Linked DNA regions of Homo sapiens: region 2 is linked to region 1. Evidence: promoter capture Hi-C in human tissues and cell types (Jung and others, 2019). All regions are on one chromosome and are shown on one strand. Each heading gives the region's core, a stretch centred on a gene start or on the middle of the fragment in contact. The rest is flanking DNA. Distances are from core to core; before and after follow the strand shown. Region 1 holds the start of SRRM4 (serine/arginine repetitive matrix 4). Region 2 has its middle 26 kb from the start of LINC00934.

Evidence for each region. The method cuts DNA at HindIII sites, captures the fragments that hold promoters and counts their contacts. A contact is called where the count stands out against the background at its distance.
Region 2: a fragment that was not itself captured here is called in contact with the fragment with the promoter of SRRM4 in region 1 in 1 of the 25 tissues and cell types used here (hippocampus).

Annotation. Positions count from the first base shown.
Region 1 is chr12:118,978,764-118,985,501 of GRCh38, reverse strand. SRRM4 (serine/arginine repetitive matrix 4) reads right to left here and starts at 3,961. Exons shown (of 13, transcript NM_194286.4): 1 at 3,489-3,961. The coding sequence starts at 3,619. The HindIII fragment of the contact is 17,491 bases long and covers 1-6,738 here.
Region 2 is chr12:119,273,724-119,280,461 of GRCh38, reverse strand. No RefSeq gene overlaps it. Among named protein-coding and RNA genes, the nearest start is that of LINC00934, 26 kb to the left of the region's middle. The HindIII fragment of the contact is 3,258 bases long and covers 2,531-5,788 here.

The DNA.
Region 1 (6,738 bases), core at 2,712-5,211:
CCTTCTTTCATTTTTAAAGACATTTTGATATAAACTATAAATCACATAGTCACTGTAGATTTGATGAAACCGTGGGATTAAAATTGTGATTTTTCAAGAAGTTTGAGCTTTCTTTAGACTGACAGTACCTGGTCTTCTCTATACAAACCAACAGAATGCTCCATGGAAATGTTATACCAATCAATTCTGAATCCAGATAATTATTTATTATCCCCAACCCCCTAACTGAAACAGTCAGATCAGAAAGCAGTTAGCCTCTTCTCAGAGACGAGGATTATGGGACCACTCTCTACCCTGCCTCATGTGTGTTAACTTCATCTGAATGTAGTTGTCCATCAGGAGTTGAAATCCCAATAAAAATGGTCAGCATTACTTGGGGGAGAAATGGGTAGGCATGGAGAACACAATGATGAGGAGTTGTTGCTTTCCTTTTGGCCACTATAAGCTTTGTTCCAGAGTCAATGTCTACTAAACAACACCATGCACCACACATAGGGGTAGAGCTTTACCTAACTAAATCCTTACAACCTGTTGTCTGAGGGGTTACTGTTATTATTTCTATTTTCAAGCTCAGTGTGGTAAAACTATTTGTTCAGGATACACAGCTAGTAAATGATAGAACCAGGACAGGAATCCAGGTTGTCTCATGCTCAAGTCTGAGCTCTTAACCACTATGATATACTGCTTCCCACTCTGCTCTACTGTTCTGACATTTGAGGCAGACATCTGGTTGCAATTTGATACATTATAAAGCTATTGCCTCATCAAGTATGCCCCACAGAGGGGTAGAGGAGAAAGAGAGACTAAGCAGGGGGTTGCTTAGATTGCAGTTGCATGATGTATGCATATTGCTATGAAATCAATGAATTGAATATATGTTTCTATCCTGGTACTAAATTACCTTGAGAGATAGACTTAAAATATCCTGAGGAAGTTTATTCAGAGGGGTGGCCTTCATCTATAAACAAATATTAAGTGTGACACCAACAGGACTGACTAGTGGTTCCTCCACCCACTCCCTGCCATCCCCCTGCAGACTGCTACATGTGCTGGTTTGCCGACTGTGATCTGGGCTTGACTCATGGAACTAAACGACATTTCTGATGAGACCAAGTCCCCAGATTGCCTCTAGAGGAAGCCACCCAAACCCAGCTGATATTGTGCCAATGCCTCTGTCTTCTTTCCTCTTGAGAACTCAGCTTTGGAAACATGGTACTTTCACCCTTAAGTAAGTGTAGAATGTTGAAAAGGAAGTGGAAATTGAATGTCACTGGATGTGGCTGGCTTGGGTGAGAATGGGGATGATTCAGGTTTTATCCAGTCTGTTAAAAGACAACTCCAATCCAACCTTTCCTGAGGACTTGGAAACAAATGTTCCCTTCTCACTCTCTACCCCAAACCAGGAGTAACAGTTATAAAACCGGAATCTGTTCTACAGAGAGGCCACGCCTATTACAGAAGTATTACACAGGATTCTCCTAGCGTGACATAAATCCAGGGCTTATGGTTCAGGCTTTCACCTCAGGGGTGGTTTCTAGGGCAAAGGAGACCCACGACATTAAAAGGCACCAAGAGTGAAATGATACTGGTTGCAGAGGGGGAGTGGAGTATTATAAAAGTCTCAGGATTACATTAGAATTAGCAAAAAGCTGCAGAAAGGATGAGGGTTGAAAGACCTTGTGGGCCATTCATGTGATTGCAAATATGACCAAGAAAAGGGCAGGACAGTAACAGAGAGACAGACAAAAGTGGAAAGTACCAAGCAAGGCAGATAATAGGTGTGCTTTCCTGAATCAAAACACCACCAAGAATCCGCTTTCCTCTCCCTGCACCCCTAAAATAGATGGAAGACTCTGGACTAAATGCCATACTTCTAGTTTCCTGTGAAATTTCCTCTAGTTCCTTCTACAAGGGCATTTTCTTTGGCCAGTGCAGCACCTGATTAGCCAACAGTAGGTACGTTCCAAAGGTGGAATAGATAGCAGAAACCCAGGAAGATAAAAACCACTGACGTCAAAACTCTATACACAGAACCTCCTTCGGAGCAGAGAAGCATCAGCCTTTAATGGCATTTGGTATTATTGTTCCCCTTCTCCAGCCTGTGTCAGTGGGTGGGTGGGTGTCCCCTCCTTCCCGTCTGCAAACACTGGCTGGTGCTGCTTTAGCTTGAAGCCTGCTACACCCTACTGGCCTGTTGTGATGCTTGGCCACCCATTCCTAAATGGGACACCTATTTCTCTAAAGACCTGTATGATCCTCAATAAGACAGTGAAGAGGAAAACTTCTCCAATCTGGCTTTGATTCTTCAGACATAATTTCCCATACGTCTTCCACCTCACACTCACTGGAAAGTTCAGAATCAGTTGTGCCAGAACAGACGTTCAGTCTGTCCTAAGCACTTTTGCAGACATGTTTTCAATCTGCTCCCTAATGCAGACTGCCAGGATTAATAAATCCTCCAAGTGGTCCCCCTGGTCCACTTCTTTCTTTTCTCCTACTAAACCACTCATCCAACACCAGCAAAAGATGAGTTTTCATACTACCTTGATTTTCCCTGACAGAGAGCACAGCCTTCTTCCCTTCATTCTTAAACTCCTCTAAATTGAATGATTTATGAAAAGAATTGGATTTTTCTCTGTCTTGGAATGCTTCCATTTTCCCCCAACCTCCTCTCCCTCTCACCCCACCTCCTGTTCCCCTGTTTCTTTCATTTCTTCCCTTATTCTTCCTTCCATCAGCACCATGTCTACCACCATCCAAGGATCGGTTCTCATCCCTGAGTTCAAAGCAATCAGATTCTTTTTGGAAAAAAAAAAAAAAAACAAAAAAAAACAAAATAAAACTCTTCCAAGATCATCTTCACGATCTTGGAAGGCTCCTCCCTGACTCCTGAGCTCAGAGTCTTGGTTTTGGATGCTGGAGAGGAGAGAATTCAGCAGCAGCGGCAGCAGCCGCCAGAAAGGCGTGGAGGAGGGTGCTGTTTTGGGTGTATTTGAGGGAACAGCATATGGGCTTTTGTCAAAAATGTTCAAAGCTCGCTAGTTTCCGAGCCGAGGATGGAAATGTGTGCTATCTCTGAACGCTGCTTGAGCTGGCTCAGTTCTCCTTTTCTGGTACAACACCCCCCAAACATCTCAAATCCACCATTCCTTGGCCCACCTGCCCTCTGGACTCTGTGACACCAAGAAAAGTTTTTCAGTCAAGTCGTACCCCATCTGCACCGCCCACCCTCAGGTAGCAAAACCTCTTGAATAGGAGCTACGGGGGTCCAATAAGCGTTGCTTTCCCCCAAAGAATTCCTGTCCCTTCTCACCATCTTCCACCTCACACAAGCAATGAGTTCCCATGTTTCAGCGGGAGCCGCCGAGTAGTGACGGGAAAAGACAGGCGCCCTGGCCCGGCTGCCTGCATCCACCCCTCCGGGCTCTGGGGCACAGGCCAGAAAGGAGGACCTTCAGGATCCCCCCTTCTAAGAAGGAGATCATTACCTTGGCAGCGGCTTGCGGGCCGTGATACTGGCGACAATGATGCTCTCGGGACGGGGGGTGGCCACCGCTTTGAAGGTTCCTCGCCAGAACTTCTCAAAAAGCTGCTTCTCGCCTTGCTGAACGCTCGCCATCGCCAACCCAAAGGGGCCGGGGCGTCCGGGGCGCTGTCCAAAGTGCTGAAACGTGGATTCCAAACGGGGGCGACACCCAGCTCCCGGCTCTGTCCGGGTGAAACCCAGAGAGGGGTGGGGTGGGAGAGATCGGAGTTCAGGGCGGGGGATGGGACGCCCCAGCCCGGGCAGGCAGCAGAGAAAGGAGGCTCGTCCGCTGGGCTTTCTTCGCCCTTCTGGGTCGGCTCCAGGCTGCGCTCTGAGCTGGCTGAGCCTCTGCGCCCCAAGAAGGGAAGGGAGGGCTGGCTTTCTGGGCAGCACCAGGAGAGAAGAGGCGACGGGGTCGGATGTGTGTGCGTGCGCGTGTGAGCTCCGGCGCGCCCGGGTTTTGTCTCTCGCACAATGTGACGTTGGAAGAGGAGGCTGGTCGCGCGAGCTGCACTTTCCTCCCCCCTCTCCGTCTCTCCTCCTCCCCACCAACCCCCTCCTCCTCAGGCTCAGCCTCCTGCCGCCATCTGCATAACAAAAGCCCGCAGGTCTTGGGAGGAGAAAGGGCGGGGCGTGCGCCTGTCACCAGGGCCCCGCGGCGACCGAGTTGCAGCGCTGATCCCTCTGAGAAGCCATCCTGGCACCCCAATCTGCGCCAGGCAGGAGATCCTGCTTCCCAGGCCCCTCTCCTCTCCCATCATCGCTGGCCTTCCTCAGCCCTTTCCTGGGTGCCCCCTTTGGGCCAGGCCACCTTTCTTTCCAGCCCCTTCGCAAGTCTTGTAGCTGATCTTCTGCGTGGGGGGGGGGGGGGGGTTGGGGGGGCTCGTAAAAAACTTAATCTATCCACCCCAGCCGGCCTCCCCCAGACCCTCACTTTTGGGAGACACGGCCTAGGCCGGTACAGAGGGTGCCCTGCGTTCCTCTTTGCGCCGGGGGTTAGCGAGGTCTCCACCACCCAGAAAGTGCCATTTGATAGACAATCCCTCACCAATTCGGCTTCTCGCCATCTGCCGAGCAGGGCCCCCGCCCGCCAAGGGGCGCAGCGTTACATCTGTGCATGCGGAGCTGTCAAGGGTATCTCTTTTGTGTCTCACAGCCGGCCTGCCCAGCGTCCCCGCCGCCAACCCCGTCCAGAGGAAAGAGTTCCCATCTCACCCCACCCCACCCCCATCCACTCCTGGGGAATCCGCCTGCAGCCACTTTTCCTAATGCCGCTAGTCTCGGGAAAGGAGTACGTTTTGGAAAAGAAAGCGCTTAGTGGGAGGGTTGGAGAGGAAAATCTCGAGGATTAGCAGGGGGATAGTTACTTTTCGGTCTCTCCTCCCCATCTCCTTACCGCCTCGCAGTTCAATCGTAATCCCAAGCAAGTGGAGGTTTAGAATCCCAAATCAACCCCAGACACAGAAGATCTGGTTAGAATGACTCTTGTTTTCCCCCAGGGTTTTCATTATAAAAAAAAGAGATCGTGGCGGGACCCCTCAGCCCTTGCCTTCCTGGAAGCCTTTTAATCTTAGCAGAGTTGTTACTCCCCCATCTCCCACCTAACGCCCTCCCCCTCCCCCCAACCCCGCTTCCACTTTCCAGGCTGTAAATTCCTGGAAGGAGGCCTCGCTCAGTCTTAAATGCCTCCAAGCACCTGGTGCTGAGTCCCAGTCACAGCGAGAATAAACTCCTGCTCTTTGCTAAAGCAGATAGCAATGGGGACCCAATGAGGGCGGGGTAGGGCGGGGGGGTCGGGAGAACAATGGGAACTCCAGAAATTCTCTGAAGGGGAACAGGAGGTAACTAGGAGGTGAAGATGAAGAGGCCAACAGAGAGGATAAGATGGGGCAGGAGAAGAAAGAACCTTGGAGTAAATGAGTACCCGCCCCAAAGGGTATCTACGTTTGAAGTGTGTGTGTTCGACACGCCTGCGTCCGCTTATTTGAGTGCCTGAGAGCGCTACTTGCTCTGCAGTGACCCCTTCTGGTCAACAACGAGAGGTGCATTTGCTGGCTTCTTATGTGGGTTGCCGGGGGAGAGGGCCCAGAGGTGGGGGTCAGGCCTGGGAAGGTTGGAGATGGAGCAAAGTGGAGACTAGGCTAACCCCTTCCCTTCCTCTCCCTCTTACCTTGCGCCCCAAATCCCCCATTCCCTGATTGGGCTAGACCCCCGTTTCCCACCCAGAAGTTGGTATCATTGTAAATGCAATCTAGAGCTGGCTTCTTATAGGTAGCAGACTGGCATCTTTAAAACTAACCTTAGTCATGACATTTAGGGTATGAACTGAGTCACTTGCAGGAGAGAGGTAGGTGGGATCCTACCCCCACAAGATCAGTCAACATCTTCCAGTTGTGTGCCTGCTCCTAATCCCTAAAATGTTGATAGAGCTCCCATATGCAAAACATTGCCTTTTTAAAATCCCATCGTAGCCAGATGAGGTGGGAGAGAAAGCTGATCTTATTCTATTTTATTTATTTATCTTATTTCAATAGCTTTAAGGGTGCAAGTGTTTTTTGGTTACATGGATGAATTGTATAGTGATGAAGTCTGGGCTTTTACATACCTGTCACCCGAATAGTACCTTACCCCCAAAAGGCCATTATTAAAAAGTAAAAAAAAAAAATAGATGGTGTAGATGCAGTGAAAAGGGAACAGTTATACACTGTTGGTGTGGATGTAAATTGGTACAACAACTATGGAAAACAGTATGAAGATTTCTCAAAGAACTAAAAGTAGACCTGCTCATTCTTTTATAAAGACACATGCATGTGTATGTTCACTGCAGCACTACTCACAATAGCAAAGACATGGAATCAACCTAAATGCCCATCAGTGATAGACTGGATAAAGAAGTTGTGGTACATATACACCATGGAATACTACGCAGCCATGAAAAGAATATCATGTCCTTTGCAGGGACATGAGTGGAGCTGGAGGTCATTATCCTTAGCAAACTAACATAGGAACAGAAAACCTGATACCACATGTTCTCACTTATAAATGGGAGCTAAATGATGAGAACACATGGGCATATAGATGGGAATAACACACACTGGGGCCTTTTGGAGGGTGGAAGTTGGGAGGAGGGAGAGGATCAGGAGAAATAACTAATGGGTACTAGGCTAAATACCTGGGTGATGAAATAATCTGTTCGACGAACCCCCGTGACA
Region 2 (6,738 bases), core at 2,910-5,409, 290 kb before region 1:
AAGCTTTGAGATGAATGCCTATTCTATGGCTCAGTTGCTGCCTCTGGAGAGGGCCTCATTCTGTGCTAGGTGCTCTGCTGCATACAGAAATAAGTGGTGATCCGAATGCTCAAGGAATCTACAATCTTATTTCCTCCCTCTACTCTTTATCAACCCTCAGAGAAGATTCCAAATCTTCTGGAAAGACAAAGAAAGGGTCACTGCATTTTATTTGGTTACAAAGCACTAAATGGAAAATTGCCTTTATGTTTTGAATCGCTGGCACCATCAGATTCATTATGAATACAACTGCATCTTTTTGGGGTAACAGCCATTTTTATGTTGCTGATATAGAAAAAGGAAATACGGCCCAGACAGCAGTCTGACGAAGGGCTCGGTAGCAGTCCTGAGGCTCATGGCGCCTAGAGAAAGCCACCGAGTCTCTCTGGACTTGTTTCCTCCTTAAGAAATTATATTCGAGCTGTGTCTTGGTAACCACAGCAGGGGACAGTTAAGGAAACCTCATAAAAAGTCTCAAGGCAAACCTAAAGTTCTGTGCAAAAACAAAATAATGAGAATACTGCATGAGAAATTTGCTTTGTGTTAGCAATAAGTCCCTTCTGTTTGTTCAGCCCTTAAAGCCCTCTCAAATCTAGTGTCTCATGTGATCATCACAATAAACCTGGAGGCTGGTGAGCTGGTAGTAGCAGGGTCTCAGGGAAGTGAAGTGACTTGCCAAAAATCACACAGGCTAAAGAGGAGCAGAGCCAGACCGCCCGGTACAGATCTAGCTGGGTCCCAGTTGCATCATTGCATGACTGTGCTGAGGAAAAAGAAGGTTAGAAGCCTCTCCTAACAAAGAAAATGTTTGTTGAATGAATGCAAGTGACTGGGTAAGATGGTGAGTGAATAAACTCCTGTAATCCTTTCCAGGAGTGATTTTACTGAGAGTGTCAAGAGCCTTAAAAATGTAAATTTTTTCTGATCTCACTCTTTCCCCTTCTTAAGAATTTATCCCAAGGAAATAATCAGATAAGATGTAAAGATGTGGTATCTAGGCATTCATATTATTATTTATGAAAGCCAAAAGAATTGTATATAATTTAAATATCCAGCAGTAGGACACTGGTTTAAATAAATGAATAGATAAATAAATAAATTATGACATTCCTGCATTCTGGGCATTAAAACAGTATCTTTGATGAATACAAAGAAAAATGTGCTTAGCTACAGGGGTGTTTATTGCAGCTTTCTTTACAAGAGCAAAAAGAATATAAACGTAAATATCCAACAACAAAGGTTTGGATTTGTAAACACACCAGAATACTATAGAGTTTCTTTTTATTTTTTTTGGGGGGGGGGATGGATTTTCCCTCTTGTGGCCCAGGCTGGAGTGCAATGGCACGATCTTGGCTCACTGTAACCTCCACCTCCCGGGTTCAAGAGATTCTCCTGCCTCAGCCTCCCAAGTAGCTGGGATTACAGGCATGTGCCACCATACCTGGCTAATTTTTTTGTATTTAGTAGAGACGGGGTTTTGCCATGTTGGCCAGGATGGTCTCGAACTCCTGACTTCAAATGATCCGCCCACCTCAGCCTCCCAAAGTGCTGGGATTACAGGTGTGAGCCACCGTGCCCAGCCAGAATTTCTTAAAGCAATGATGTAGCTGCATATTTATACACAGGAAAAAATTCACAATGCAAATTAAGTGGGTGAAGTAAGGAAGAGAATATGTGTAACATGGTATCTCTCACTCAGTATATCTGCAAGGGTATATTGGAAAATGTTAACAGGGATTATCTTTGGATGATAGGGGTATATTTTTAAACAATGATAATTAGAATAATTCTTATTATAGGTGTTACTATTCATTGTGCTCTATGAGCTCTGTATGTGTCTGTGCTAGGCTCACAGACCTGCACCCATTCTGAACACAGTGCAGCTCCATGAGGCAGGTATTACTGCATGATTAGGACTTCAAGCATGGGGTTGACCTGGAAAGAATGATGGAGGAAACAGGAAGGTGCATAACTTTGATAAATACCCACTCTGTGCCAGACACTTAATGGACATCATCACACTGAATCTTGCACTAATTATTCAGAAAAAAAAAATACCTCTCATTCATATGTGTGAAAATTGGAGCTCAGAGAGGTTGAACAACTTGCTCAAGGCCACCCAGCTTGCAAGTGGGACCTGTCTGATTCCAAAATGCACATACTCTCCACCTTGCTCTATTGCCAGGAGTGTCTACTTCTCATAAGCAACGAGGCCATGTCCAAACCCACCGACAAGCAAAGATTGCAGTAGTTTTGAGGGGCTTTTAATCATCTAGTCCAGCCTAACCTTACAGTGAAGTTGGAGGCAGAGTCCAGGACCTTCTTAGCCTTGCTCCAAGCTCTGCTTCTGTCCTGTGGGATAGTAGTGATCCCCATCCCTGCCTCTGACTTTGGAAATAGATACATGGAAGTCATACCAACTTTACATAGCTGTGAAACTGACTCTAGACCTCCATTTTGCAAGTCGCTTCCCCTCTTGATGTCTCAGTTTCCTTGCTCACAAAGTGGAGTTAATAGTAACACCCACCTTTATGGGGTTTTCAATGTTTATAAATAATATTTGCAAAACACTTGGCACAGAGTAGGCACTTAACATATAAAGAGAATTTCTTCTGCTTTGTTTACTCATCCTGAAAATACAGGAGTAATAACATGAAGGGAATATATACTCTTAGTGAAGCAAGTGACACAGGCTAGGCCAATATGCATGCATTTTGGAGCCCCAAGGAAAAGCGCTTCAGGTTTTCTTTGTCAAATTAAAATCAGTTCCATCTTAAAATTCCCCTCTGCAAACATTTGGAAAGATGGTATTTAATTGATCATAACATCCTCAGACTCTCAGGCAGGCTCTTTCCTCCTCTTGCTCATCACCACTGATTACTCAAGGTATTTTTATGTAAACAGAAAATGGCTCCTGCATAATTAGACCCATCCACCTCCACACTCGCTGCTCTTTCTTTGCTTCTAGCCTCTTGGAGCCGCCCAGTCACCTCTGAGGCTAATCAGCTGAAGGTCTATGCATCTGCTGAGCTCTGAAGGTTCCAAGAGGGCTGTAGAGGGGCCATAGACAATGACTGCAGAGGCTGTCATCTGGGGCTGTAAAGGCTGCTGAGAAAAACACATAGCCCTGCAACTCCGATTTTTCCCTCTTGGTTCCCTCCAGTACATCCCCCTGTTCCCAGTGTCCTGTGCTACCTGTTGCACACATCAGGGAGACATTCTTTTTCCAAACTTAGCAGCCTTGTCTCCCATCCCTGACTTTCTCTTAGCTAACTCCAGACAAGAAAGGGTTAATCTTAAAATAACCAAATCTCTGTATATGGATGACATCTATGTAATGTGTGCCTTCCATGGTAGCTTCCTGGGTATATGCAGGACTGGAATTCTTCGTTTCCATCTTGTTCTTCCTGCACACCCTCCACCCCCTGACCCTGATAGACCACATCATAGGTCTCAATGACATCACTGAAGGCAGGGAGTGTATCGTATCATATTGTCTTCTCATCCCCCATGTTTGGCATAGTTCTGAGAGTTAGTTGGTGCTCTGTTTGGGAACTTCAGGTTCAGCTGAGAAGGCATGGGAATGCTGAGAAATAAGTCCACAGAGGTAAGTAAAGTTAGAGCGTTGAAAGGTTTGGACTTTATCTTGCAGGCACTGAGGAGTTTTAAGGGTGAAATAATCAGATTTGTGTTTCAGGAAGCTCACTTTGGCTGCCAAGTGGAGAGCAGACAAAGGGGAACAGGAAGACTATTAGAAGGCTGTTAAAATAATTCCAGAGACCTGCAGCCTAAACTAGGGGGTGGGAGCTTTCCTTCATCCCCCCAATGTTTTTGCAGCCACATGTGCCTACTCCAGGCAGATGCCGTTGGGAGGTGCAGTTGGTACTCAACCTGCACTCCCTAGGCCTCAGTTGTCTGCCGCAGTTCTTGGATGCTCTGATGACTTCCAGTAGGCTGTGATGCTTTCCAGTATCTCTCAGCCTGAGGGTGTCCATGGGCCATGGTAGTGTGCTTGATACCTCTCAGAGCAGGTAGAAAGCACCGGAGGAGTGACACTTCATGAGTGTTCCTCAACCCGTGAGGACAAATACCCCAGCTTCCTTGATCCTTGGAGGGACAATTCTGAAGCATATTCTACATTATCTACTAGAAGTATCGTGAAGGATTAAACCCCAACAGTCCATGGAGAGTGACCAGCTCATTAAGATATCCTGGATTGCCATCTTCCCTTCTCTGTCTGACTTCCCCACTTCTTCACAATGCTTCCTGGGATCACTCCCAAAAAAACTCTTTGAACCCAAATCCTTGTCTCAGAGTCTGTTTTTAAAGGAACCCGAACTATGACATTAGCATTTTACTATAATTTCGTATTACATGGATAAATGGATAAATACACAAACGTTGTCCGGGTGTGGTGGCTCAAGCCTGTAATCCCAGCACTTTGGGAGGCCGAGGCAGGCGGATCACGAGGTCAGGAGATCGAGACCATCCTGGCTAACACAGGTGAAACCCTGTCTCTACTAAAAATACAAAAAAATTAGTCCCAGCTACTCGAGAGGCTGAGGCAGGAGAATGGCGTGAACCTGGGAGGCAGAGCTTGCAGTGAGCCGAGATCGTGCCACGGCACTCCAGCCTGGGTGACAGAGTGAGACTCTGTCTCAAAAAAAGAAAAAAAAAAATACACATTTTCATTCATTCATTCATTGATGCTATCCCTTTTACTTGACTTTTTAACATCAACGATTCCTTTAAGAATGGCACATTTGCTTTCTGGGGCACTAAGTCCCGCTCAAACTTGTTCAGGCACAGCATTTAGTCAGTGCATGGACCCCAAATATTAAAATGAGGCATGGAAATGCACCTGGTTTTAAATATCCAAAGTCAAGGTGCAAGGGGTTATGAGAAAATGGAATGCCCACTTCAGCAGGTGCCACATATTGGCTCTGCTCAGTAATATTAAGACAGGACCCAGCAGTGGGCAAATGTAAGGGACCCATTGAAGGTGCTATCACTTAAGCTTCCTTCACCTGGGAGAGTGTACATGAATTGTCTAAAAAGAGTAAACTTTATGGCTGGTGGAGAGTTCATATTATTTCTTTTTTTCTTAGAAAATATTCTGGTCTTAAAAAAAAAAGTGATCTCAAATTACCTCAACTGTAGTGGCAAAGGACTGCTCTGTATTTAAAGTTTATTGTGAAAATTTGGAGGGCTGGGATAGGAAGCTGCCAGCCATGAGTAAGCGTATGGTTTTTCACCAGGGGTGACTTTGCTTCCAGGGGACACTTGACAATGTCTAGAGAAATTTCTGGTTGTTACAACTTGTGTGTGGGGGGTGTGTTACTGGCATCTCATGAGTAGAGGCCAGGGATGCTGCTCAACATCTACAGAGCAGCTAGATTATCTCGTCTCAAAGGTCAATCGTGTTGAGATTGAGAAACCCTGCTTTAGAGGAATCACTTATCCTAGCTTCTATTTTTTCCCCTAGGCTTGGGGAGGGAAGGACTTGAATCATGGGGCATATCTAGGGATTCCAGCATGGGGCAGTAGAGGATGGTATAAATCCCTGTGCCTGCCTTTGCCTGGGGGTAAAGTGGTAGTGGTGAAACAGGAAAAATTCCCTTATCCCCCTCTCGGGGTGTGCGATGGGGGTGTGGCTCTCTTCTTCAGTGCCCCACAGCTTAAACCCCTAGAGGGAGCATGCAGATGAGCAGGTCGTGGGGAGCGCGGGCTCCGACCCCACAGCAGCATCTAGGGTTGAATGTTTATAGCTCCCGAAGCCCCAGTGGGCGTGTGGTACAGTGTGCTCTTTCAGCGTAGCTGTCCACAGGCAGCTTGTGTTAATCAGCTCAATTAGACCCTCTGCCTTATCACAGGGACAGAGGGCTTTCTTTACCCTAGGTTCTTGCCCCAGTGTCCTGGAAGAATCAGATCACACTTGGGCTTGGATGATGGGTGCAAGGTTTTATTGGGTGAAGGTAGCTCTCAGCAGATGAATGGAGAGCCAGCAGCGGGTGGTGTGGAAAGGTGATCTTCCCCTGGAGTCAGAATGCTCAGCAACTGGACTCCCCTCCAACCGCCCCCAACTGAATTCTGCATTGTCCTACCGTAGATGGCCTGCCGGCGTCTACTGGTGTCTGCTGGTGTGTGCTTCTGCCAGTGTGTTCCTCTCAACCTCCAGCTGTTTGTGTCTGTGTCTGCTAGGGTCTTGGGGTTTTTATAGTTACAGGATGGGGCATTTGGCAGGTTAGAGTGGTCTTAGAAAATGCACCATTTGGGCACGAAAACAGGAGTGGCTGTCCTCACCTAGGTCCGTGGGCACAGGCCCAAGGGTGAATCCTTTGCCAGGGACCCTGCCCTTCTTTACCCAGCACTTCCCTGCCCCAACTCCCATATCAGTGGTGGGAACACGGGGCCATTGGCATTGCTAAGGGCCTTATTTCAAATTGGTCTCAACAATGGGATGGTTTAAAAGCAACTAAAGCTTACTTAAAAAGGAAACTTGATATCATTACCATAAATAAGAAAAACCCAGAGTCACTTGCCTTAATTAGAAGGTAATCACAAAATAAATCCAATGAAAGTAATAAAATATTATTGAATACGGGGGAGTTGAGCAGGCTGGAAATCAGGAAGCCTTAGGAGAGTCCCATTATCTCTCCAGGCTTCGATTTGCTCAGCTATCAAATGAGATTTGGTTAA